Linked DNA regions of Homo sapiens: all the other regions are linked to region 5. Evidence: promoter capture Hi-C in human tissues and cell types (Jung and others, 2019). All regions are on one chromosome and are shown on one strand. Each heading gives the region's core, a stretch centred on a gene start or on the middle of the fragment in contact. The rest is flanking DNA. Distances are from core to core; before and after follow the strand shown.

Region 1 (4,185 bases), core at 648-3,147, 330 kb before region 5:
GCCAAGTCAACATGAAGGCAAAGGCTTTCTATTACCTTTTGGGTAAACCCAAATCCTGAGATTTGGATTAGGATAGATGCTTAAGAGATAGAGGTGATGCAGACCAACAGCACAGCTGAGAGGGCAGAATCTGGAAGTTTAAGGAATTGTCAGACTCTCAAGGATAAGGAGGCCTTTGGGGTCCTACTCCCCAGTTCTAAGGAGCAATATGGTACACAGAGTTGGATCTCTGACACCCTGGTTCTAAGCCCTACCTAAGATTCTGGGGTCCCAAGGCAACAAGCTTTTAGACTTGACGGGACTGCCAGGACTGGATAGTGGCTGTTTCAGAAGCAGTCTGATGACCAGAAGAAACTTCTCAGCATCTTGGTGCCAAATAAAATCTGGATACCTTTGCATAATCTTAGGATTTGTGAGAAGCCCACCAACAAAGCAGATGGTGGTGGGGATCTTGGTAACAGAAATAAATTTACAGAAAACAAAGACATGCAATATTTCTTGAACATATTAATCTATGGATTGAAAAATCGGCCAGGCACAGGCCGATGCCTGTAATCCCAGCACTTTGGGAGGCCGAGGCGGGTGGATCACTTGAGGTCAGGAGTTCGAAACCAGCCTGGCCAACATGGTGAAACCCTGTCTCCACTAAAAACACAAAAATTAGCCGAGCATGGTGGCAGGCACCTGTCATCCAAGCTATTCAGGAGGCTGAAGCAGGAGAATCGCTTAAACCTGTGGGGCAAAGGTTGCAGTGAGCCGAGATCGCGCCACTGCACTCCAGCCTGGGGGACAGAGCCAGATTCTATCTTGAAAAAAAAAAAAACAAAAAGAGGAAAATCACACCAACTATATGTTTTTGTCCTGATATCTCAGGGTAGCTGAGCCAGGAAGGTTCTGCTCCAGCAGGCTGGGGAGCATCCACTTACCCATGAAAAGGAGTATTTGGAGGCTCATTTTAGGGGCCAATACCAGATAGTCCAGGACTAAAAGGTCTTCTTATTTCTATCCCTTTATATTTCTAATAGGAAATGAAAGAGTAGACAACAGAGTATAGTTTCTGTATTGCAGCTGGGGAAGAGACAGGAAGAGCGGAATCCACCAGCACAGTGAGTGAGTCAGAAAGAAAGTACTCAAAACGTCAGTGAGGAGCTGAGGAACTCAGCACATGAGTGCTCTCAGCATGCAGAAGGCTCAGCTGAATTCTGACTGGATTTGTCCTCAGCAAAGCAAAAACCAGGGTCCTTTGAATATACAGGACACAAAGCTCTTCTTATAGAACAAATTGGACTGAGCCTTTGGGGGAAACAACTGTACCAGACAGTGGGAGCTAACTAACAGTAGGTGTGCCACGCAGCACCACGTGGGTCCAAACTGTGGCTCCACTTGGTTCTATCCTTACACAGTCACAGCCTTTGGTTGTACTGGGGCAGTTTGGTGGACCAGGTAAACAGGTACCCTTTGCACAGGAGAACATGGTGGAATTCCACCTTTAAGAAACTCGAACCTGCTACGCTTTTCAGGTAACTGGACCCCACCTCAAATCTACCTGGTACAAGTATAACTAACATGAAGAGCAGAAGAGAAGTCTAGTTTGTATTCTTTTAGAATTCTAATCCCCAAATATTTGCCAGAGATCAGTTACTCGGAAAACTTTCTGATATAAAAAAGGCCTCACCCATTCACCCTGTTCTCAACTTACCATCACATTCCAGCAGACACTGAAAAGCTGAACAAGGGAAACCTTATCCCTGCTCTAGTTGGTTGAGTCTCTCCTCTCTTCCTCTCATCACTGTTGCCCACGTACTGTAGTTTGGAAGTAAGAAAAGAAGAAACTTAAAATATCTCGTTATTTTCCTCCAAAAATTTTAGGGATAAAAGCGCCAGATCCTATGACCCATGTTTAAGATCCAATATTGCCTGGATTCCCTGTTTGGAAACTTTAGAGAGGTTTACAGCCACACTTTCCCTTTTCACTTCTTCCCTTCATGCCAGTTGCCTGGGCAAAGTGGCTGTCCCTGTGTTTTGACATTCCAGCTTCCTAGACCCATAACTCTATCCCAGTAATTTCTGAGAGGAAGCAGCAGCTACTTTCTATATATTTTATCTTCAAGATGTCCCACCCTGCTTTCTGTAAATTGGATATAAAGCTCTTTTATTTGGAATGGAAGGAAGAATGGTCTTTTGACTTGTCTTCATTTTTGGAAAGAGCTTTAAGGTCTAGCATACTCCAGATACCTGAAGTCCATTCTAATTCTAATATCCCATAATTCCAGAAAGTGTTTCTCAGTTTCTTCCACTGAACAAAATGTTTACTGAATATTCTAAAATCAAATAATTTTGAAAAAACTGTAAATTTTGAAAATCTCTCCTTCTTGGAGATTATGTCCATTAGTATAGTCAAGGCTCTAAGAAGTAGTAAAGAAACCAGTTTTCTTGTCTTTTTCAATTATATTTAACCCAGTTACTCCATTTCACATAAAACCCATTAATATCTACCTGACTTCCTTAAGAAAGGCTGTCCTTGAGAACATGGGAGCATCTGGTTTCCTAATTTTCACAATGCAGATCAATCAATGACTCTAAGCTGTGTTAAGGAAAGCATTTAAAACTTTTAAAAAGCTCCATATACAAAGAAGTTAATCATGAAGTTGTAATAACAAAAACCTGGAAACAATTCAAATACCTTAAAAGAGGGACTGAGAAAATACGTTATGGTGTAACTGTGTCACAGAATATTATGTGGTCACTAACAATATTTACAAGCATTTCTTCAAAACCTATGAAAATGTAAAATATCTGGTGAAACATTATATAGCATGATTTCAACTACATATAAGAAATATGCATAGAAGGCCAGGCGCAGTGGCTCATGCCTGTAATCCCAGCACTTCAGGAGGCTGAGACAGGAGGATTGCTTGAGGCCAGGAGTTCAAGACCAGCATGGCCAACATGGCCAGACCCCATCTCTATAAAAATAAAAAAAATTAGCTGGGCATGGTTTTACCTGCCTGTAATCCCAGCTACTCAGGAGGTTGAGGCACGAGAATTGCCTGAACCTGGGAGGTGGAGGTTGCAGTGAGCCAAGATTGTGCCACTGCACTCCAGCCTGGGTGATAAAGCAAGACTCTGTCTCAAAAAAAAAAATGCATAGAAAATATATTGATTTAAATGTCTTCTGGGTCAAGTGCACACCACAACACCTGGCTTTTTTTTTTTTTTTTTTTTTTTCCTAGACACAGGGTCTCGCTATATTGCCCAAGCTGGTCTTGAACTGGCCTCAAGTGATTCTCCCACCTTATCCTATCAAAGTGCAAAGTGCTGGGATTACAGGCATGTGCCACCACACCTGGCTACTAATGTATTTTTAAGGCCTCCCTTTTAGGTGGCTTGATGAGCCTACAATAAGATAAGGAAAGGCCAATGAAATTAAGAACTTTGCCTGCCTTGCCAGAGTGGGAGAATGGTGAGCTCTGAAGGGGCTGAAAGCCTTGAAACAGTCTAGAATAGTGGTCCTCAGCAGGGATGGTACTGCCCCCCAGGGAGCAATTAGGAAATAAGTGGGAGCATTTTTGGTTATCCCAATTGGAGGCCATTATTGGCACTTAATGGGTGAGGAGTCGAAGATGCAAGACATCCTGAAACGTACAGGGCAGTACCTTAATTGTCCTATGTCTCCTGACTTTCAAATGGCTCTCCAGCCAGTGATGTAGGTGAAGCATGTTTATAATCATTTGAGCCTACAGCCTAACTCTGTTTTATATGACTTTAATATATACAGAAATTTTCAGGAATTCAACCACTGTGTAAATCAAGGGAAGACTAAACTTTGTTTTATTTGGAAAATTTTCAAAGGTTGTTCACCATTTTGGAGAACAATATTGCCAATAGCAATGGTATTCAAGTCACCAAAGCAACATATTCATATCAGTTAGCACTTCTAATCTTTATACCTATGCTGACTATGTATATGGGAGTGAACCCTTGATTACTTCAGTATGTCTTCTAGTGTGGTAGAATCTGAGCATTTATATATTAAAACACTTAAAATTTTACTACAAACTCCTTTTATTTCCTCTATCACATTTATGGCCTATTAATTTTGGTTGAAATGGTGTGGAATCATATGCAATTATCTACAAACTTCATTGAAGTGAAGGAGACATTACAAAATATTTGTTATAAATA
Region 2 (4,140 bases), core at 359-2,858, 360 kb before region 5:
TTCTCATCAGAAACCATGGAAACAAGAAGGCAATGGGTACATTTAAAAATAACTAAGTATAATTGGATTGTTTGTCACAAAGGATAAATGCTTGAGGCACTAGATACCCCATTTTCCATGATGTGATTATTACAGGAATGCAATGCCTGTATCAAAACATCTCATGTACTCCATAAATATATACACCTACTATGCAGCCACAAAAATTAAAAATGAAAAAAAAGGCAGTGGGTTGACATATTCAAAGTGTTGAAAGAAAAAGACTATGAAAAAATTTGTTATTTGGCCAAACTATCTTTCAAAAATGAAGGCAACATGAAAACATTCCCAGATAAACAAAAACAGAGTTCATCTCTAGCCACCCTGCCCTACATAAAATACTAAAGGACATCCTTCAGGCCAAAATGGAAGGAAACTAGTAACTTGAATCCACATGGAGAAATAAAGAGCACCAGTAAATGGAACTACATAAGTAAATATAAATGATTTTGGTTTGTAACTCATTTTTTGTCCCCATCTGATTTAAAAGGTAACTTAAATGCAGTAATTATAAACTAAGATGGGTAGACTATGTATAAAGATGTCATTTGTAACAATAACAGCATAAAGGAGGAGGGGAACAGCTATATAAGAAGCAAAATTTTTGTATACAAGTGGCATGAATTAGTATTAATCAGAATGAGATAGTTCAGAATAAGATGTTAATGGTAATCCCTATGGCAACCACAAAAAAACTTTAAAAATCTAGTAAATATATGATAGAGATAAAATGGTACAAAATAAAATGTCTAACACAAAAAAGGCAGTAATGGAAGAAATGTGGAACAAAAGAGACTTAAGACATAACACACAAATAGTAAAATGACAAATGTATAAACCTTATCAATAATTACATGTAAATGGATTAAACATAGATCGACAGAATGCATTTAAAAGATACACACCCAAGTGCACACACAATCCAAAAATGTGCTTTGTTTAAGAGACACTTTAGACTCAAAGACATAAGTTGGAAGTAAAAGGACAGAAAAAGATACACCAAGCAAATGGTAGCAAAAGTACTAGGGTTGGGGGGAGGGTCTATGTTAATATCAGAAAAAGACTTTAAGACAAAAATTGTTACTAGATCCAAAAGATTTTATAAAATTGAGAAGATCAATCCACCAAAAAAGATATAATTTTACACATTAGCATACCTAACGAGTCCAAATATATAAAGCAAAACCAGACACAATTGAATACAGAAATAGATAATTCAACAATAAATGTTACCAATTATATTACCAATACTAATTATAAACCAATTAGACCTAACAGACATTTACAGAACATTCCACCCAATAGCAGCAGAATATACATTCTTCTCAGTACAAATGAAACATTCTCTAGGACAGACCATATGTTAGGCCATAAAATAAGTATCACTAAATTGTAAAAGACTGAAATTGCCAGGCACGGTGGCTCACACCTGTAATCCCAGCACTTTGGGAGGCCAAGTCGGGCAGATCACCTGAGGTCGGGAGTTCCAGATCAGCCTGACCAACATGGTGAAACCCCATCTCTACTAAAAATACAAAAATTAGCCAGGCTTGGTGGCAGGCGCCTGTAATCCCAGCTACTCTGGAGGCTGAGGCGGAAAATCGCTTGAACCCTGAGGCGGAGGTTGTAGTGAGCCAAGATCGCGCCACTGCACTCCAGCCTGGGCGACAGAGCGAGACTCAGTCTCAAAAAAAAATTAGCTGGGCATGGTGGTGGGTGCCTGTTGATGCAGGAGAATCATTTGAACTCAGGAGGCAGAGGTTGCAGTGAGCTGAGATCACACCATTGCACTCCAGCCTGGGTGACAGAGCAAAACTCCATCTCAAGAAAAAAAAGAAAAGAAAGAAAAAGAGGACACACACTTTCAATTTCAGTATCTACCAAAAAGCTACAGTAATAAAAACAGTGTGGTACTGGTATAACAATAGACATACAGTTGAGAGTCCAGAAATAAACCCATACATCTATAGCTAATTGATTTTTTTTCTTTTTTAGACACCAGGTCTCACTCTGTTGCCCAGGCTGGCGTGTACTAGTGTGACATAGCTCAGTGCAGGCTTAAACCCCTGGGTTCAGGCGAACCTCCCACCTTGGCCTCCCAAAGCACTGGAATCAGAGGCATGAACCACTGCATCCAGCCAGTTAATTGATTTTTTTTTTTTTTTTACAAAGGTACTAAGACCCTTCAATTAGAAAATAGTATTTTAAATAAATGGCACTGGGACAACTAGATATCCACATGTAAAAAAAAATGAATGTAACTCAAAATGGTTAAAAGACCTAAATGTAAGACTGAAAACTATAAAACTCTTAGAATAAAACATAAGTATAAATCTTAGTGACTTTAGATTATGCCACAGTTTCTTAGATAGGACACTAAAATCAGAAACAGGCTGGGTACGGTGGGTCATGCTTATAATCCCAGCACTTTGGGAGGCCAAGGCAGGTGGATCACCTGAGGTCAGGAGTTTGAGACCAGCCTGGCCAATAAGGTGAAACCCTATCTCTACTAAAAATACAAAAAAAAAAAAAAATTACCTGGGCATGGTGCCATGCGCCTGTAATCCCAGCTGCTCAGGAGGCTAAAGCAGGAGAATTGCTTGAACCTGAGAGGTGGAGGTTTCAGTGATCGTGCCACTGCACTCTAGCCTGGGTGACAGTGTGAGACTCTGTCTCAAAAAAAAAATTTTTTTTTTAAATCAGAAGCAATCAAAAAAAATAGATAAGTTGGACTTGATCAAAATTCAAAACTTTTCTGTGTCAAAGTATACTATCCAGAAAATTAAAAGAGGCCCCGCACAGTCGCATACACTTGTAATCCCAGCACACTGGGAGGCTGGGATGGGAGGATCACTTGAGGCCAGGAGTTCAAGAGCCTGAGCAACATAGTAAGACCTTGTCTCATTTTTTTTTAAATAAAAAATAAACAAAGTTAAAAGACAACTCGCAGGATGGGATGCAGCATTTGTAAATCATATACTCCAACTAGGGTCTAGTATCCAGATATATACAACTTAATAAAAAGACAAATGACTTAATTAAAAATAGACAAAGAATTTGAATAGACATATCTCCAAAGAGTTATACAAATGGCTAATAAGCTCATGAAAAGATGCCCAACATTGGCCAGGTGTGGTGGCTCATGCCTGTAATTCCAGCACTTTGGGAGGCCGAGGCAGGTGGATCATGAGGTCAGGAGTTCGAGACCAGCCTGGCCAACATAGTAAAACCCTGTCTCTACTAAAAATACAAAAATTAGCCAGGCATGGTGGCATGCACCTGTAGTCCCAGCTACTTATGAGGCTGAGGCAGGAGAACTGCTTGAACCTGGGAGGTGGAGGTTGTGGTGAGCTGAGATCGCGCCACTGCACTCCAGCCTGGGTGAGAGTGACTCTGGTCTTAAAAAAAAAAGAAAAAGAAAAAGAAAAAGAGGAAAAAAAAAGATGCCCATGTTACATTGTTAGTCATCAGTCACTGTAGAAACCTGCCTGGCAGTTCCTCAAAATGTTAAACAGAGTTACCATATGATCCAGCAATTCACTCTTAGGTAAATGCCTAAGAGAAATTTAAAAATATGCCTACACAAAGACTTGTATGTGAATGTTCATAGCATTATTCATAATAGCCAAAAAGTATAAACAACTCAAACGTCTATCAACTGATGAATGGATAAACAAAATGTGTTATATCCATGCAATCCACACAGTATATCCATAGTGACACATGCCACAACACGGTTGAACCTTGAAAACTTTATGCTAAGTGAAAGCCAGACACAAAAGTACATGCATTGTATTATTCCATTTATAAGAAATGTCTGGAATAGGCAAACCTACAGAGACAAAAAGTAGATAAATGGTTGCCAAGGGATGGAGGGAAGAGGAAATGAGAAGTGATTGCTAATGGTTATGGGGTTTCTTTTTAGGTAATGAAGATGTTCTGGAATTACAGTACTTACGGTTGCCTATCTTTCTGTACAAATAACACATGGCTTTTGCCTCCTGACTGGAGCCTTTCAGGTATACAGAGAGCCTACAATTAGCTGCTGTTCAAGGATCCAGGTGAGAGACAGGGAGGCTGGGACAGGGGTGATCGCAGTGA
Region 3 (3,790 bases), core at 168-2,667, 490 kb before region 5:
CCTCTCACTGTGGGCCAAGTGACAACTTGTTCCTTCACTAGGGTACATCAGGACAGGGATAAGCGTTAAGCATCCCTGGTAGAGACCTGAGGAACATTGTGCAAGGCGGCCGGGGTTGTTGATAGTATCTGTATCAACTACTAATGTTTTAGTTTCGCCTCCTGGCAGGGCGAGGGTTTTAGCAGTGCCACAGAAACCGTTCTTCATTGAAGCAAATCATCTCCCAATAATGGAATCTCACTAACTTGCTGACCCAGCATTCTGTTCTCTCAGACCTACCTCATCCCTTCCCACCTTTGGAAAAAAGCTCCATTTAAGGTGAATATGCCAACAAAAAATCTTGTTGCTCAGCTCCAGAAGATTCTCTGTTTAAGATCTTCCAAATTAGCTGTAGAGAACCCCAGGAAATGATCCAGCCACATAAAGACTCACTTTTCCCACGGACCCCCAAGGAGCTCTGAAACCACCAGCAAACACCCAGTTGTTGCCTTTAGCTCCTTAATTTGACTTGGGAACTCTGAAATCCCTTAGTCATTGGTGTATTTTCAGACAATTTCAATAATCTGACCAGTCCCATCCTCTACTTGTTGCTTTTTTCTAATCTCACTCTTGAAAGAAAAGTCATGTGATAGAACCACCTTTTATTATACGACCACCACACTGCCCAGAGACAAGGCCCAAAGGAGAGCACAGAGGCTCTTGAATTTACTGGACGGTCTTTGTTGGCAAAGAGTCATAATTATAGAATCTTTTAGGTCATATTTTATCCTTCATCCAGACATCTGTAGGAGTTGGCTTCTTGGGAAACTATAACATCACTTAGCCCCTAAGCTGAATTTCTTAACCTGTAAAATGGAGTTAATAACTGGACTGCCTTGTCAAGGTGTTGGATAAATGAAATCTGTCCTAACAATAGACACTTAAATCTTGGGCCTGGGCATGGTGGCTCACATCTGTAATCCCATCACTTCAGGAGGCTGAGGTAGGAGGATTGCCTAAGCCCAGGAGTTTGAGACCAGCTTGGGCAACAAAGTGAGATGCCATCTCTACAAAAAATAAATCAGCCAAGTGCAGTGGTATGCACCTGTGGTCCCAGCTACTAAGGAAGTAGAGGCAAGAGGATTCCTCTAGCCCAGGAATTTGAGGTTGCAGTGAGCTCTGATTGTTCCACTATGAGTACAGTGGCACAATCAAAGCTCACTGCAACCTCAAACTCTTTGGCTTGATGAATGAGTGACAGAGCGAGACCCTATCTCAAAAAAAAAAAAAAGTGTAGGTGGAGGAGGAGGAGATGTATTGAGGAATTATGCAGGATTTCTAAACTTGGTTATATTACTTCCAGATCTCTATTTTCTTCATGGAGACTCTTGGAGTTTCCTTTTCTTTTTTTCCTTTTTCCTTTTCTGTTGAAATGAGGATTGTACTCTTGCTGAGTATCTTCCTAATCTGGTAGGAATCTTCTGAAACAGAAATGTAGAAGAAAATTTCCATATCTATGAAGATGAATTGAACCAATAGTTCTAAAACTTTCTTGAGGATAAGAACCTGGGATGCTTCCCATTCAGTCTCTTCTGGGACAGTGTCCTCAGTCTGTGTTTTTTAACTCAAGCTTAGGACCATGCTGGTGCAGGTGGCAGAGTTACCCTTTGAGAAATGCAAAAATCAATTCTGAAAACTGAAGGTTCATAAGCTAGTCACAGATTTGGGTGCCAAAGTTTCCATTCTAGTGTGGACGTAGTTTTTCCTTCCAGTAGGTTTCCAGGAAGAAAAGGCCCCGGTTTGAGCATGACCTGTGGGAGTGACCTGAAATGAGATGTGAGACTATGTCTCATGTTGTTGCCAAATTAAATGACCCCACTGAAGCTTGGCTGAGAGGTGGCAGGGGCTGGCTTAGGATTTGAGGACCAGTGATCCTGTGGTAGTTTCATTGGCATTAGCTTCAGTATATCAAGATATCCTCGTTTTTGAAAGTTCCTTTCTGCTGGGACTCTGCTATTTCCTGAGCCTCCAGTGTCTGTCCTGTCAGGCTGCCCCTGCCTTTGAAAAACTTGCCACTTCCAGGAATAGGGTGGCTTTGCCTGACAATACCTCAACCTGTTTGAGAAGATGGACAGGCGAGAGCGTTGGTGAGATGGCAGTGGCTCCGGGTGCGAAAGAGGAAGGTAATATGAATGCAAGTAGGAAGAAAGGAGTAAAAATGAGAAAGACCTCCAGAGCCAAGTGTTTGGAACAGCTTTGGAGATTTCCGCTTCAGTATGATCTTCACAGATTTGAAATCTTGTTAAGGGAGTCCTATTGTGGCAGCAGGTTTGTCGTTTCTGCACTGAAACTGTAAACATTTCAGTATGGGTGCCTTGTGAATAAGCAGCTTCCAGTAATTGGCTTTCTGGAAGCACAGACCCAACTCCTGGGTAGGATGAGCCATGGAGAGAAGCAGCTTACACCAAGAGTCACTTCCCTGGAGTGTAATTTCTTTAAAAAGATGCCTTTTTAGATTCAGAAAGCACAAAATGTAATCATTTCTCTTTATAAGCTAATCCACTGTTTGAGCAAAGGGTAAAATAAAAATAAGCTAGTGCAAGACCTTGTGCAACTTCAATTTCAGTGTTTCAAACTATGTAAGTATTTCTCTCCCTGTACTTGAGAAAAAGCTCTTCTCTTTCTTCATCACAGGGCTGCCGCAGGTCTCCTACTCCTGCTGGGTTCAGCCTTTTCTCAGGTTCTCTGCTTTTATTCAGAGGAAAAGTGCTAATCAATGGCTTATACCTAGTCCTGGACTCTAGCACTCTGTGCCCTTCCTTTCTAATTTCTTAAAGGGCACAAGCTCCTTTTAACATAGGAAAAACTCCGTTAGACAAAATATATAAGGTTTTCAGCACAGTGGCAATTTTCTTTTGGGGCTATAAAAGAAACCCTCTGATTAGGATTATTTTAATGGAGTATATATAACTGTAGATAAGATAAAATGCAGGCTGGGTGCAGTGGCTCATGCCTGTAATCCCCGCACTTTGGGAGGCCGAGGAGGGTGGATCACCTTAGGTCAGGAGTTCGAGACCAGCCTGGCCAATATGGTGAAACCCCGTCTCTACTAAAAATACAAAAGTTAGCTGGACGTGATGGTGGGTGCCTGTAATCCAGCTACTTTAGAGGCTAAGGCAGGAGCATCACTTGAACCCGGGAGGTAGAGGTTTCAGTGAGCCAAGATCTCGTCACTGTACTCCAGCCTGGGCAACAGAGTGAGACTCCATCTAAAAAATAATAATAAAATGCAAACTGTGTTTCAGAAAAAAAGGCAAGTTTGGTTAGCACAAAGAAACATCATTAGTGACACCTGTGTTGGCCTTCTGAGTTATGAGACTTCATATTAACATTATAACAAACTACGTATACATTTTGTGCAAGAGAAAAATTACTAAACCAGGCCTTCTTGAGTAATGCTTTAATTTTCCAGAAGGGGGACATAGATTGGATTTAACTTAAATTGAGGCAAATGGATGTATTTTATTTGGGAAATTGTTTTTTGTTCCTCCTTTGTTTTGCCTCCATAAATTTATTAATGCAGAACCTGAAGGCTGTAAACCCAGGATAATTAGAGTTACAGTGTTACAGAACATTAAAAACCCACAGCAAGTGGCTGATATCTGCCTACCATATCTGCAGTTGAAGTTCATACCATGTGTGATAATTACGAACTTTCTTTTTTGTGGGCACCTTGGTAGAAATTATTAGTATCACCTGCCATATTTTCACATGTTACTTAAACATCAATAAAGTGTACATAGTAAAGCAG
Region 4 (4,301 bases), core at 354-2,853, 290 kb before region 5:
CCTGACAATAGGGGTAGGGTTGGTACATACGAGTGTCCTGTGGGAGAGATGAAGTAAAGGCAGCAGTGGACACGAGTGTCAGGGATGCGTTTCTTCCTGGCGATGTTGACCTCCTCCTTCAGGAACTTCTCGTACTGCTCATTGATGTACTTCTCAATGGGCTCCCAGCTGATGGGGAGGGAAAGTAGATAGATGCATCAGAAGAACAAGACCTAGGGCTCAGCTTAGGCATGATCTGGTAGCAATCTCCTTACATTCATGTCATTCCCTGGTTGGTGGGCCTAGGATACCTGCTGCCAGATTCCCCCTCAGCCCCCGCACCGATGGCTTTCCTGGATGGTTAGTTAGCAGGGGTGGAGCTCCCCAGGGGCCCTGGCCTGGGCTGTCGGGAACTACAGAGCATGGAGGGTGCAGATGGTTCTCAACGTGAATGAATCTGCACCATAGTAAGTATCTTCCCAGCAGAGTCTTTAGGGCAAAGATCTCAGAGGCAGACAGATACCAGTTTTCATTGTTGATTTGGTCTCCAAAGCCTGGGGTGTCGATGACGGTCAGCTTCATTTTGACACCGCCTTCCTCTATCACTGGGGGTGAAAAGAAAATGTACCAGAGAGGTCAGTCCTACAGCTGACCCCAGGTACCTGGCAGCCTACTAGCCAGGGAGACCCAGGCCTTGTCTTCAGGATCAGTTATTGGAAAAGTCAAATTTAGGGTCTTTTCCATCTCGATATCATGGCTTATGCTGTTCCCTGTACCTGGAATCTGGAATACCCTCTCTACTCATTTCTTTTTCTTCTTCTTTTATTTTTTTTAAGAGACAGGGTCTCACTCTGTCACCCAGGCTAGAGTGCAGTGGTGCAATCACAGCTCACTGTAGCCTCGAACTCCCCAGCTCAAGTGATGCTGTCGCCTCAGCCTCCCCAATAGCTAGGACTACAGATATGCACCATCATACCCAGCTAATTTTTTTTTTAAGAGACAGGGTTTCGGGCCGGGCGTGGTTGCTCACGCCTGTTATCCCAGCAGTTTGGGAGGCCAAGGCAGGCGGATCACGAGCTCAGGAGATCAAGACCATCCTGGCTAACACAGTGAAACCCCATCTCTACTAAAAATACAAAAAAAATTAGCCGGGCGTGGTGGCGGGTGCCTGTAGTCCCAGCTACTCAGGAGGCTGAGGCAGGAGAATGGCGTGAACCCGGGAGGTGGAGCTTGCAGTGAGCCGAGATCGCACCACTGCACTCCAGCCTGGGCGACAAAGCAAGACTCCGTCTCAAAAAAACAAACAACAAACAAACAAAAAAAGAGACAGGGTTTCACTGTGTTGACCAAGATGGTCTCGAACTCCATGACTCAAGCGATCCTCCCACTTTGGCCTCCCGAAGTGCTGGGATTACAGGCATGAGCCACCGTACCTGCCCACTCCTTACCTCTTTCTACCTGTCTAAATCCTGTACTTTATCATCCACCTCAAATCTCACCTCCTTCCATTCGAGCTCCCTGCTCTCTCTTCCCTGAACCTGCAGTCTAAGGAGTTTGCTTCAGAGTGAAGTGCTCACGTCTGTTTTGTCTTAAGGTTGCCTTTTATTGATCTTATTCTTCAATAAGCCCCATTCTTTCCCCTTTCCAGCAGAGGCACTCACTGAACAAAGCCCATAGGGGTCCCTGCCTGGTCCTCACCATGCCCGATAGCTTTGATCTCCACTGTCTTGGGGATCTTCTCCTCCCGGTTCCAGCTGGAGGCCTTGCGGCTCACTTGGGATTTGAAGAGCGTGTTGACCAGCGTTGATTTGCCCAGTCCACTCTGGCCTACAGCAAAGCAGGAGGAGGAGGTAGGGAGACTCTGCATCCACCTCCTGAGCCTAATATTTCTCCATAAGCTTACAGAATTCTAGAGCCATGATCCAGGCCACACCTTGTCTGACCACTCACTGGGGGATGGCCAGGCTGAGTGGGGATTGCAGGCAGGTGGGAATGGCTTCCTGCTTACTGCAGAGGGCCTTGGGGAAACATCACTTGGATTCCATATTCTCTCCTTCCCAGAGCCACAGGACCACTGGGAAAAGGGACAACCTCTGCATATGTCTAGTGTCGTGGTTTTCTGTTTTCTCGTGATTCCATTTTTTGCTTAGGTTTTCACTTTTTAATGATACTAAAAGGAAAAATAGAATGACTTTGCATCCTGATACTGCCTCACAGTGCATATTGTACATTCACATTTGTTAGCCAAATTCATTTTTATATCAGCCCTGTGGATCCTGAAGCAGAACTATCTTTATCCTCAGTTGAGATGGTCCTAGAGAGATGAATCCTCTTCTAACAAAATATGTGCAGAGCAACATAACTAATACATGCAAGACCAGGAACTCAAACCCTAATAACATCTTGGCTCTATATCCACTCTTTCTTCTAGTGTAGTGGTTTTTAGATTGTGCTCCCAGAAGCCTTAGTGTCCTGTGAAGATACATGCCAGAGAGGGCACTGTGAGAGGAGGAGGAGGCTGGGCAGGCAGGGCCCCTGCATCCACTTCCTTCGCTATGGCTCCCTTTCACCTGTTTTCCAGATGCATATCTGCAGAAGATTTCATTTCAAGGAAAAGTTTCACAGCTAAAGAACATTTGAAAACCACTGGTCAGGCCGTTTGCCGTGGCTCACACCTGTAATCCCAGCACTTTGGGAGGCCGAGACAGGCGGATCATGAGGTCAGGAGGAGATCGAGTCCATCCTGGCTAACACGGTGAAACACCGTCTCTTCTAAAAAAAATACAAAAAATTAGCCCGGCGTGGTGGCAGGCGCCTGTAGTCCCAGCTACTCAGGAGGCTGAGGCAGGAGAATGGCATGAACCTGGGAGGCAGAGCTTGCAGTGAGCTGAGATCGCGCCACTGCGCTCCAGCCTGGGCGACAGAGCGAGACTCCGTCTCAAAAAAAAAAAAAAAAAAAAAAAAAGGGAAAACCACTGGTCAGGCCAGGTGCAGTGGCTCATGCCTGTAATCCCAGCACTTTGGAAGGCCAAGGCGGGCAGATCACTTGAGGCCAGGAGTTCGAGACCAGCCTGGCCAACATGGTGAAACCCTGTCTCCACTAAAAATACAAAAATTAGCCGGGCATGGTGGCACATGCCTGTAGTCCTAGCTACTCAGGAGGCTGCGGATCGTTTGAACCCAGGAGGCAGAGGCTGTAGTGAGCCGGGATCACGCAACTGTACTCCAGCCTGGGCAACACAGCGAGACTCTGTCTCAAAAGAAACAAACCCACTGGTCTGAGCAGAGCTTCTCAAACTTCAACACGTACAAGAATCCCACAAGAAAGACTTGCAATTGACAAGCAGCCTCGGCATTGCCCGGACACTAGTAGGAAATGCAGAATCTCAGGCCCCACCCCAGACCTATGATTCTGAATCTGCATTTTAACTGGGCTTCCAGAAGAGTCCTATGGACAATAAGATCTAAGAAATACTGGGCTGGTGAATTCTTGTGATTATATTAGAAAAAGAACCATGCTGGGGGACAAGGGCCTAGAGTTCCAGACCCACCTGCATTGTTTTCCCTGAATGCCTTTGGATTAGTCATGCCTTGGTTTCTTTACTGATAGGATGGTGAGGAGAGAGGAAATTGGACAAGACCAGGGATGGTAAATAAGGTGCATTTCTCATTCCTGCTGATTATCTGGTAGTAGTCACCTAGACCATTATGTTAAAAAGGCTACATCTGGGCTCAGCACTGAACACGTGCCATGACTGACTAGCAGTCTGCCATGCACACCACTGGGGAGAGAAGTGGCTCACGGGTGTTGGATTTGCCATGCTTGCTCTGAGATGTTTTCTAAGAGCATTCATTCATTAATTATTCTTAGGTGCCAAGTGTTGTCCTAAAATTTGGAGGTACTATCGTGAACAAAACATGATCCTTACCCTCAAGGAGCTGCTTAGTGTGAGAGTGACCAAAACATAAGCAGACAATTATAGTATGTTGCAATAACCACTGTGAAAGAGAATAGCCACAGGGTATTGAAACAGCATTGCCAAGGGAATCCAACCCAGTCTCTCTGGGACTAAGGAAGACTTCTGGAGAAATGCAACTAAGCTGAAACCGGAAGGTTGATTTCAAAAGAGTCATGAGTTCTAGCCAGAGGGAACAGCAGATGCAAAAGCTCTAGGGTAGGAGAGAGCATGGCATGTGGACGAGCACTGCCTCTTCTGAGTGAGGAGTACAATGCTAGATGGGAAGTGGTCAGAGATGAGCTGAAGAGGTACAATCAGGACAGTCTACGAGTTTAAACTTACCCTGAGGTTAAAGGAGAGTTT
Region 5 (3,791 bases), core at 1,159-3,658:
TCACTTTCCCTTCAAACACTCTGATTATCCCCAAAACCCATCCTTATAATACCTACCTCCTGGGATAATCAGCCTCCCACTTCCTCTGGTCCAAATCTCACCCATCTTCTTAAACCTAATTTGAATGCTTCCTCCTCTAAGAAACCTTTCCTAATTCCTCTCCTTACCCTGAACAGCACTTGACTACAAACATGTTCATTCTTCTAAGTTCTAACATGTTCTCTTATTTCTCCCCGCTGCACTGTCTTATTCATCTCTGATTTACTGTCCAAGAAAAGCAGCCTCAGAATTTCCATCCTTAATGAAAATTCAGAGGTTATTAGCTAGTTTACGAGTTCCCAGAGCACAGTGTGGGAATTCCTAAGGGTGCCTAAAACACTTCCCAGAGGTCCACAAGAACAAAAATATTTTCATATAATATTAAAATGTTCTTAGTCTTCCTCATTTTTTTTTAAATTTTTTCCATGTTGGCCAGGCTGGTCTTGAACTTCTGGCCTCGTGATCCAACCACCTCGGCCTCCCAAAGTGCTGGGATTACAGGTGTGAGCCACCGGACCCGGCCCAGTCTTTCTCATTCTTATTCTCCCACAAGTGTACAGTGGAGTTTTTGAGACTATATGACATGATAGCACAACAGACTGAATGCAGAAATAGATAAAAATCCAGCTGTTTGGCCGGGTGTGGTGGCTCACGTCTTTAATCCCAACACTTTGGGAGGCTGAGGCAGGCAGATCACCTGAGGTTGGGAGTTCAACACCAACCTGACCAACATGGAGAAACCCCGTCTATACTAAAAATACAAAATTAGCTGGGCGTAGTGACGCATGCATGTAATCCCAGCTACTCGGAAGGCTGAGGCAGGAGAATCGCTTGAACCCGGGAGGCGGAGGTTGCGGTGAGCTGAGATTGCGCCATTGCACTCCAGCCTGGGCAACAAGAGTGAAACTCCATCTCAAAAAAAAAAAAAAAAAGAAAGAAAGAAATCAAAATATTTGAGAACGCAGCCAGGCACGGTGGCTCACAGATGCAATCCCAACACTTTGGACTTTGGGAGGTCAAGGCAGGAGAATTGCTTGAGACTAGGAGTTCAAGACCAGCCTGGGCAACACAGGGAGACCCCCGGGACCGTTTCTACAAAAAAAAAAAAAAAAAAAAAAAAAATTGAGAACTGCTGATCTAGCCAATCCACCCACTCACGAATTCCCCTCCCATGAATTGGAGAGAAACTTGACCTCCCAAAGTCTTCTTGGATGCCTCCATGGACAAGAAAACTCACTGCAGGTCGGGCACCGTGGCTCACGCCTATAATCCCAGCACTATGGGAAGCCGAGGCGGGTGGATCACCTGAGGTCAAGAGTTCGAGACCAGCCTGGCCAACATGATGAAACTCCGTCTCTACTAAAAATAGAGAAATTAGCCGAGCGTGGTGGCGGGAGCCTGTAATCCCAGCTACTGGGTAGGTTGAGGCAGGAGAATCGCTTGAACCCAGGAAACAGAGGTTGCAGTGAGCGGAGATGGCGCCATTGCACTCCGGCCTGGGTGTCAGAGCGAGACTCCGTCTCGAAACAAACAAAACCACTTCATTGCAAACGCGGTAGGCAATGAGGACCCAGGCAGCCCGCTTTGGCCAGCTCTGCCCAAGGAACAGTCTTCCCGTTCACCCCCACTTCTGCCCGGCTGTAACCTGTCACTCCTGTCCCCTCGGAGCCCAGACTGCCCCTCCTCCGATTCACACCCCGACAGCTGAAGGGAATGAGGAGCGGCCGCCGCATGCGCCCCTGGCCCGCAGGTGAGTGGAGGCTGAAATGGCGGGAGGCTGAAATGGCGGGAGCCTGAGCTAAGGCCGAATCCCCGGGAAATGGAGGCAGGGGCAGCAAAGGGAAGGAGCCAGAAGGCGGAAGGCGGGAAGGTGTGTCCCTGAGACTGGGTGAGGTCCCGGGGGATCCGGATTTCCGTCCTTTCAGGCGCAGAGCCAGTGGACCGGGCTCCACGGAGGCCCGCAGGCCGGCCTGGGGCTGAGGGGCCCGAGAGGCCGCTGCGGCCGGGTCCGGGACGGGCTGACAGGGAGGAGAGTGAACACAGCGCGGGGGCCCGGTTTCGCGTCGGGTTCACCGGAGCGGGTCTGGCAAGGGCCTGGCCGCGTTTGCTGAGGGAAATGGCCAAACCCAGGTCTTCTGAAGAAAAGGTTCCGCCCGCACCGACACGCCGGGGTCCGGCAGCAGCTCCAGCGCGCAGGCCAGGCACAGGCGGGGGGTCACGGGCAGCAGCCAGCGCGGGTCGTGCCGGTAATGGGCCCTCTCGAATAGAAGCGCCGCCTCTTCCTCTCTCCTGGGCCCGGGAGTGCCCGCCGTCGCCGCCTGCCTCACAGCCATCTCCTCGCTTGCCCTCAGCTGAGGCGGCACTCTTTCCCGCGCAGACTGCACGCATGCGCACTTGGAGGACGGACCTGCGTCGGTGTGGAATGCGCCTGCGCGGACCCAGGGCGCTGCAGTCTCAGACGAGCAGCAGCCACTGAGGGCAAGTGGTGGACGCAAGTGCTCTGGATCGTGTCTAGCTAAGCCAAAAGCGGTTTGTGCTTAGAACCCTGCAGGAATGTCTTTACCACATCCAAAGTTGAAAAGCAATTATAAAGTAGGGGGCATTTGCCTTGAAAAAGGAAGGAAAGGAAGCTATTTCTACTGTTTTTTAAAAATGAAGGCCGGGCATGGTGGCTCACGCCTGTAATCCCAGCACTTTGGGAAGCCGAGGTGGGCGGATCACGAGATCTGGAGATCAAGACCATCTTACCCAACATGGTGAAACCCCGTCTCTACTAAAATACAAAAAATTAGCTGGGTGTGGTGGCAAGTGCCTGTAATCCCAGCTACTTGGGAGGCTTGAGGCAGGGGAATCACTTGAACCTGGGAGGCGGAGGTTGCAGTGAGCTGAGATTGTGCCACTGCACTCCAGCCTGGCGACAGAGCAAGACTCTATCTCAAAAAAAAAAAAAAAAAGGAAAATAAGCGATCCCAAGGATTCGCATCTAAAAGCAATTAGAGGCTGGGTGAGTTGGCTCATGCCTGTAATCACAGCACTTTGGGAGGGAGGCTGAGGCAGGAGAATCACTTGAACCTGGGAGGTGGAGGTTGCAGTGAGCCAAGATCGCACCACTGCACTCCAGCCTGGGTGACAGAGGAAGACTCCATCTTAAAAATAAATAAATAAATCAGAAGCTTAAGACCAAAAAATAAAAGTAAAAAAACAAAACAAAACACCAAAGACAGAGAGAAAGAAGTTCAAGACCAGCCTGAGCAACAGGGCGAAACCCCTCCTCTACTAAAAATACAAAAATTAGCTGGGTGTGGTGGCTCATGACTGTAATCCCAGCTACTCGGGAGGCTGAGGCAGCAGAATCGCTTGAACCCAGGAGGCGGAGGTTACAGTGAGCGGAGATCAAGCCACTGAACTCCAGCTTGGGCCACAGACCTACACTCCATCTCAAAAAAAAAAAAAAAAGCGTCCCATGCAGAGGACCACCCCTCCCCATAAGCAGCTGAGGCTTTTGGAGTGTCCTGCCTCAATCAGGATTAGCTTGGAGACAGAGCAGGATAGAACCTCAGTGGACTCCACTGTGAGGAGCTGGGGGGCAGGTGTTTCGGAGAGGACACTGGGTTGACCCACATTCCCTAAACCACAACCACAGAGTGGAAGGGGCTTCTACCCCACCCACAAAGTATCCCAAACCCCGAAAGGGGGCACTTGGAAAATGTGCCAGAGAAATCAGAACACCACAGGGCCCAAATGACCAATTT
Region 6 (4,329 bases), core at 1,198-3,697, 310 kb before region 5:
AGCCCAAAGCTAGCAGAAAGAAGAAAATAATAAAGATTAGAACAGAGATAAATAAAAGCGAGAATAGAAAAAAATAAGAAAAAAAATTTAAGTTCAACAAACTTGACAAACTCTTAGCTAGATTAAGAAAAAGAGAGAAGTCTCAACTAAAATCAGAAATGAAAAAGAGGATATTAAAACTGATGCCAGCCAGGCATGGTGGCTCAGCCTGTAATCCCAGCACTTTGGGAGGCCAAGGCAGGTGGATTACTTGAGGCCAGGAGTTTGAGACCAGCCTGGCCAACATGGCGAAACCCCATCTCTAGTATAAACATTCAAAAAAATTAGCCAGGCATGGTGGTGGGCACCTGTAATCCCAGCTACAAGGGAGGCTGAGGCAGGAGAATCACTTTAACCCAGGAGGCAAAGGTTGCAGCGAGCCAATATTGCACGACTGCACTCCAGCCTGGGCGACAGAGTAAGACTCTGTCTCCAAAACAACAACAACAAGAAAAACAACAACAACAACAACCAAAAAAAAAACTGATGCCAAGGAGTTACAAGGATTAAAGAGAAAACCAAGGACAATTGTATGTCAAGTTGGATAACCTAGAAGAAATGGATAAATCCCTAGAAAAACACAACCTACCACACTGAATCATGAACAAACATAAAATATAAACAGACCAATTAACTAGTAAGGAAATTGAATCAGTAACCAAAAACCTCTCAGCTAGGTGTGGTGGCTCATGCCTTTAATCCCAGCACTTTGGGAGGCTGAGACAGGAGGATTGCTCGAGGCCAGGAGTTTCCGACCAGCCTAGGCAACTTGAAAACCTCATCTCTACAAAATATATAAAAAAAAAGTTGGGTGTGGTGGCACACATCTGTAGTCCCAGCTACTCGGGAGGCTGAGGTGGGAGGATCACTTGAGCCTCGGAGATTGAGGCAGCAGTAAGCTGTGATCATGTCACATCACTGCACTCCAGACAGGGTGACAGAGTGAGAACCTGTCTCAAAAAGAGAAAAAAAAACCTCTCAACAAATTCTATTATACAAAACGTTTAAAGAATTAACTAATCTTTCTGAAACTCTTCCCCAAAATTAAAGAGGAAGAAACACTTCTAGGCTTACTTTATGAGGCCAGCATTACCCTGATACCGAAGCCAGACAAAGAAACTACAATAAAATAAAATTGCAGGTCAGTATCTCTGATGAATATTGATGTAAAAAATCCTCAACAAAATACTAGCAAACCAAATTCAGCAGCACATTAAAAGGACTATACACTATGACCAAATGGGGTTTACTCCTAGAATGCAAGGATGGTTCAGCATAGGAAAATGAATCAATGTAACACACCATATGAACAAAATGAAGGGAAAAAACCATGCGATCATCACAATCGATGCAGAAAAAGCATATGAAAAGATTCAGTATATTTTTGGCCAGGCGTGGTGGCTCACGCCTGTAATCCCAGCTCTTTGGGAGGCCAAGGCGGGCGGATCACGAGGTCAGGAGATCGAGATCATCCTGGCTAACACGGTGAAACCCCATCTCTACTAAAAATACAAAAAATTAGCCGGGTGTGGTGGTGGGCGCCTGTAGTCCCAGCTACTCAGGAGGCTGAGGCAGGAGAATGGCGTGAACCTTGGAGGCAGAGCTGGCAGTGAGCCGAGATTGCGCCACTGCACTCCAGCCTGGGCAACAGAGCGAGACTCCGTCTCAAAAAAAAAGAAAAAAAAGAAAAGAAAAGGTTCAATATATTTTCATGATAAAAACACTCAACAAACTAAAAGTAGAAGGAAGCTACCTCAACATAATAAAAGCCATATATGAAAAGCCTGCAGCTAACAGCATACTGAATGGCAAAAGACTGAAAGCTTCCCCTCTAAGATTAGAAACAAGGCAAGGATGCCTGCTTTCACCACTTCTATTCGACATAGTATTGGAAGTCCTAGCCAGAGCAATTAGGCAAAAAATAAAATAAATAAATAAATGGTATTCAAATTTGGAAGGAAGAAGTAAAATTAACTCCGTTCACAGATGGCGTGATCTTATATGTAAATAAACTTAAAGAGTCCACCAAAAAGCTGTCAAAATAAGTGAATTCAGTAAAGTAGCAGCATATAAAATCAACCCACAAATATAGTTGCATTTCTATACACTAATTATGAATGATCCAAAAAGGAGATTAAGGAAATAATTCCATTTACAATAGCATCAAAAAGAATAAAATACTTAGGAATAAACCTCACCAAGGAGGTGAAAGGTTTGTACACTGAAAACTATAAAACATTAGTGAAAAATATTGAAGACATAAATAAATGGAAAGATATCCCATGTTCATGGATTTGAAAACTTAATAAGGCTAAGACGTCCAGGCTACTCAAGTGATTCAGAGATTCAACACAATCCCTACCAAATCTCAACAACACTTTTTGCACAAACAGAAAGCGACATCATAAAATTCATATAGAATCTCAAGGGACCCCAAAAAGCCAAATAATTTTTAAAAAGAAGAACAAAGAGGATTCACACTTCCTGATTTCAAAGTATATTACAAAGCTACAGTAACCAAAACAGCATGATACTGGCATTAAAGATAAACAAACCAATGGACTAGAATAGAAACAAATCTTCACATATATGTGAGAATTGATCAAATAATCTTCAACAAAGGTACTAAGATGACTCAGTGAGGAAAAGACAATCTATTTAACAAATGATGTCCTTTTAGAAAACTGGATATCCACATGCAAAAGAATGAAGTCATACCTTTATCTTACATAGTATGCAAAAATTAACTCAAAATGGATTAAAGACTTAAACATAAGACCCAAAACTATAAAACTCCTAGAAAAAAACATACTGAAAATCTTCGTGACATTGGACTTGTCAATGACTTCTTGGATAAAAAAACAAAAGCACCGGCAACAAAAGAACAAATAAATAAATTGGACTATATCAAACTTAAAAATTGTGTATCAAAGGACACAATCACCAGAATGAAACAGCAACCTATGGAATGGGAGAAAATATTTCAAATTGTATTTATGATAAGGGCTTAATATCTAGAGTATGTAAAGAGCTCCCTGTAATCCCAGCACAAGGCCAAGGTGGGTGGATCAACTGAGGTCAGTAGTTCAAGACCAGCCAGCCCAACATGGTGAAACCCTGTCTCTACTAAAAATACAAAAAAATTGGCCAGGCCCAGTGGCTCACGCCTGTAATCCCAGCACTTTGGGAGGCTGAGGCGGGTGGATCACAAGATCAGGAGATCGAGACCATCCTGGCTAACACGGTGAAACCCCGTCTCTACTAAAAAATAGAAAAAATTAGCCGGGCGTGGTGGTGGACACCTGTAGTCCCAGCTACTCAGGAGGCTGAGGCAGGAGAATGGTGTGAACCTGGGAGGCGGAGCTTGCAGTCAGCCAAGATCGTGCCACTGCACTCCAGCCTGGGCAACAGAGCGAGACTCCATCTTAGAAAAAAAATAATAAAAAAAATTAGCCAGGTGTGGTGGTGGGCACCTGTAATCCCAGCTACTCAGGAGGCTGAGGCAGGAGAATCACTTGAACCTGGGAGGCAGAGGTTGCAGTGAGCTGAGATCGCACCATTGCACTCCAGCCTGGGCAACAAGAGCAATAATACACAAATGGCCAATGAGCATATAAAAAGATTGTCATTACTAATCATCAGAGAAATACAAATCAAAACCACAATGAGACATCACTTTATACCCATTAGGATGGTTAATATTTAAAAAACCAACAGGTCCAGGCATGGTGGCTCATGCCTGTAATCCCAGCACTTTGGGAGGCCAAGGTGAGTGGATCACTTGATGCTAAGAGTTTGAGACCAGCCTGGCCAACACAGCGAAACCCCGTCTCTACTAAAAATACAAAAAACTGGGTGTAGTGGCATATGCTTGTAATCCTGGCTACTCAGGAGGCTGAGGGCATGTGAATCACTTGAACCCCGGAAGCTAAGGCTGCAATGAGCCAAGATCCTGCTGCTACACTACAGCCTGAGTGACAGAGTGAGACTCTGTCAAAAAAAGGGAAGGGAGGGGAGGAGAGGGGGAGGGGGAGGGAGAGGGAAGGGAGGGAGAAAGGAAAGGAAAGGAAAGGAAAGGAAAGGAAAGGAAAGGAAAGGAAAGCAAAGGAAAGGAAAGGAAAGGAAAGGAAAGGAAGAGGAGAAGAGAAGAGAAGAAAAACAAGTGTTGGTGAGGATGTGGAGAAACCGGAACTCTTGTGCACTGTTGCTAGAAATGTAAAATGAGTAGCTGCTATGGAAAACAGTCCGGAGGCTCCTCAAAAAAAATTAAAAATAGAACTACCGTACAAG

What was found. The method cuts DNA at HindIII sites, captures the fragments that hold promoters and counts their contacts. A contact is called where the count stands out against the background at its distance.
Region 1: a contact is called between a fragment that was not itself captured here and the fragment with the promoter of MEI1 in region 5, in 2 of the 25 tissues and cell types used here (dorsolateral prefrontal cortex and mesenchymal stem cells).
Region 2: a contact is called between a fragment that was not itself captured here and the fragment with the promoter of MEI1 in region 5, in 2 of the 25 tissues and cell types used here (mesenchymal stem cells and mesendoderm cells).
Region 3: a contact is called between a fragment that was not itself captured here and the fragment with the promoter of MEI1 in region 5, in 3 of the 25 tissues and cell types used here (dorsolateral prefrontal cortex, mesenchymal stem cells and mesendoderm cells).
Region 4: a fragment that was not itself captured here is called in contact with the fragment with the promoter of MEI1 in region 5 in 1 of the 25 tissues and cell types used here (dorsolateral prefrontal cortex).
Region 6: a fragment that was not itself captured here is called in contact with the fragment with the promoter of MEI1 in region 5 in 1 of the 25 tissues and cell types used here (dorsolateral prefrontal cortex).

What each region holds. Positions count from the first base shown.
Region 1 is chr22:42,028,338-42,032,522 of GRCh38, reverse strand. It overlaps WBP2NL (WBP2 N-terminal like), which reads right to left. Exons shown (of 6, transcript NM_152613.3): 6 at 4,048-4,185. Among named protein-coding and RNA genes, the nearest start is that of WBP2NL, 32 kb to the right of the region's middle. The HindIII fragment of the contact is 3,748 bases long and covers 24-3,771 here.
Region 2 is chr22:42,052,781-42,056,920 of GRCh38, reverse strand. It overlaps a transcript of WBP2NL not described here. Among named protein-coding and RNA genes, the nearest start is that of NAGA, 16 kb to the left of the region's middle. The HindIII fragment of the contact is 5,927 bases long and covers 1-4,140 here.
Region 3 is chr22:42,190,769-42,194,558 of GRCh38, reverse strand. The region is part of intron 2 of TCF20 (transcription factor 20); the gene reads left to right. Among named protein-coding and RNA genes, the nearest start is that of CYP2D6, 62 kb to the right of the region's middle. The HindIII fragment of the contact is 3,881 bases long and covers 1-3,357 here.
Region 4 is chr22:41,983,489-41,987,789 of GRCh38, reverse strand. SEPTIN3 (septin 3) reads right to left here. Exons shown (of 12, transcript NM_001363845.2): 4 at 1,678-1,806; 5 at 503-584; 6 at 31-168. Among named protein-coding and RNA genes, the nearest start is that of WBP2NL, 13 kb to the left of the region's middle. The HindIII fragment of the contact is 7,491 bases long and covers 1-4,301 here.
Region 5 is chr22:41,698,120-41,701,910 of GRCh38, reverse strand. MEI1 (meiotic double-stranded break formation protein 1) reads right to left here and starts at 2,408. Exons shown (of 31, transcript NM_152513.4): 1 at 2,199-2,408. The coding sequence starts at 2,372. It also overlaps the pseudogene C22orf46P. RefSeq lists a silencer at 2,336-2,435. The HindIII fragment of the contact is 9,130 bases long and covers 1-3,520 here.
Region 6 is chr22:42,007,934-42,012,262 of GRCh38, reverse strand. The region is part of intron 1 of WBP2NL (WBP2 N-terminal like); the gene reads right to left. Among named protein-coding and RNA genes, the nearest start is that of WBP2NL, 11 kb to the right of the region's middle. The HindIII fragment of the contact is 3,157 bases long and covers 869-4,025 here.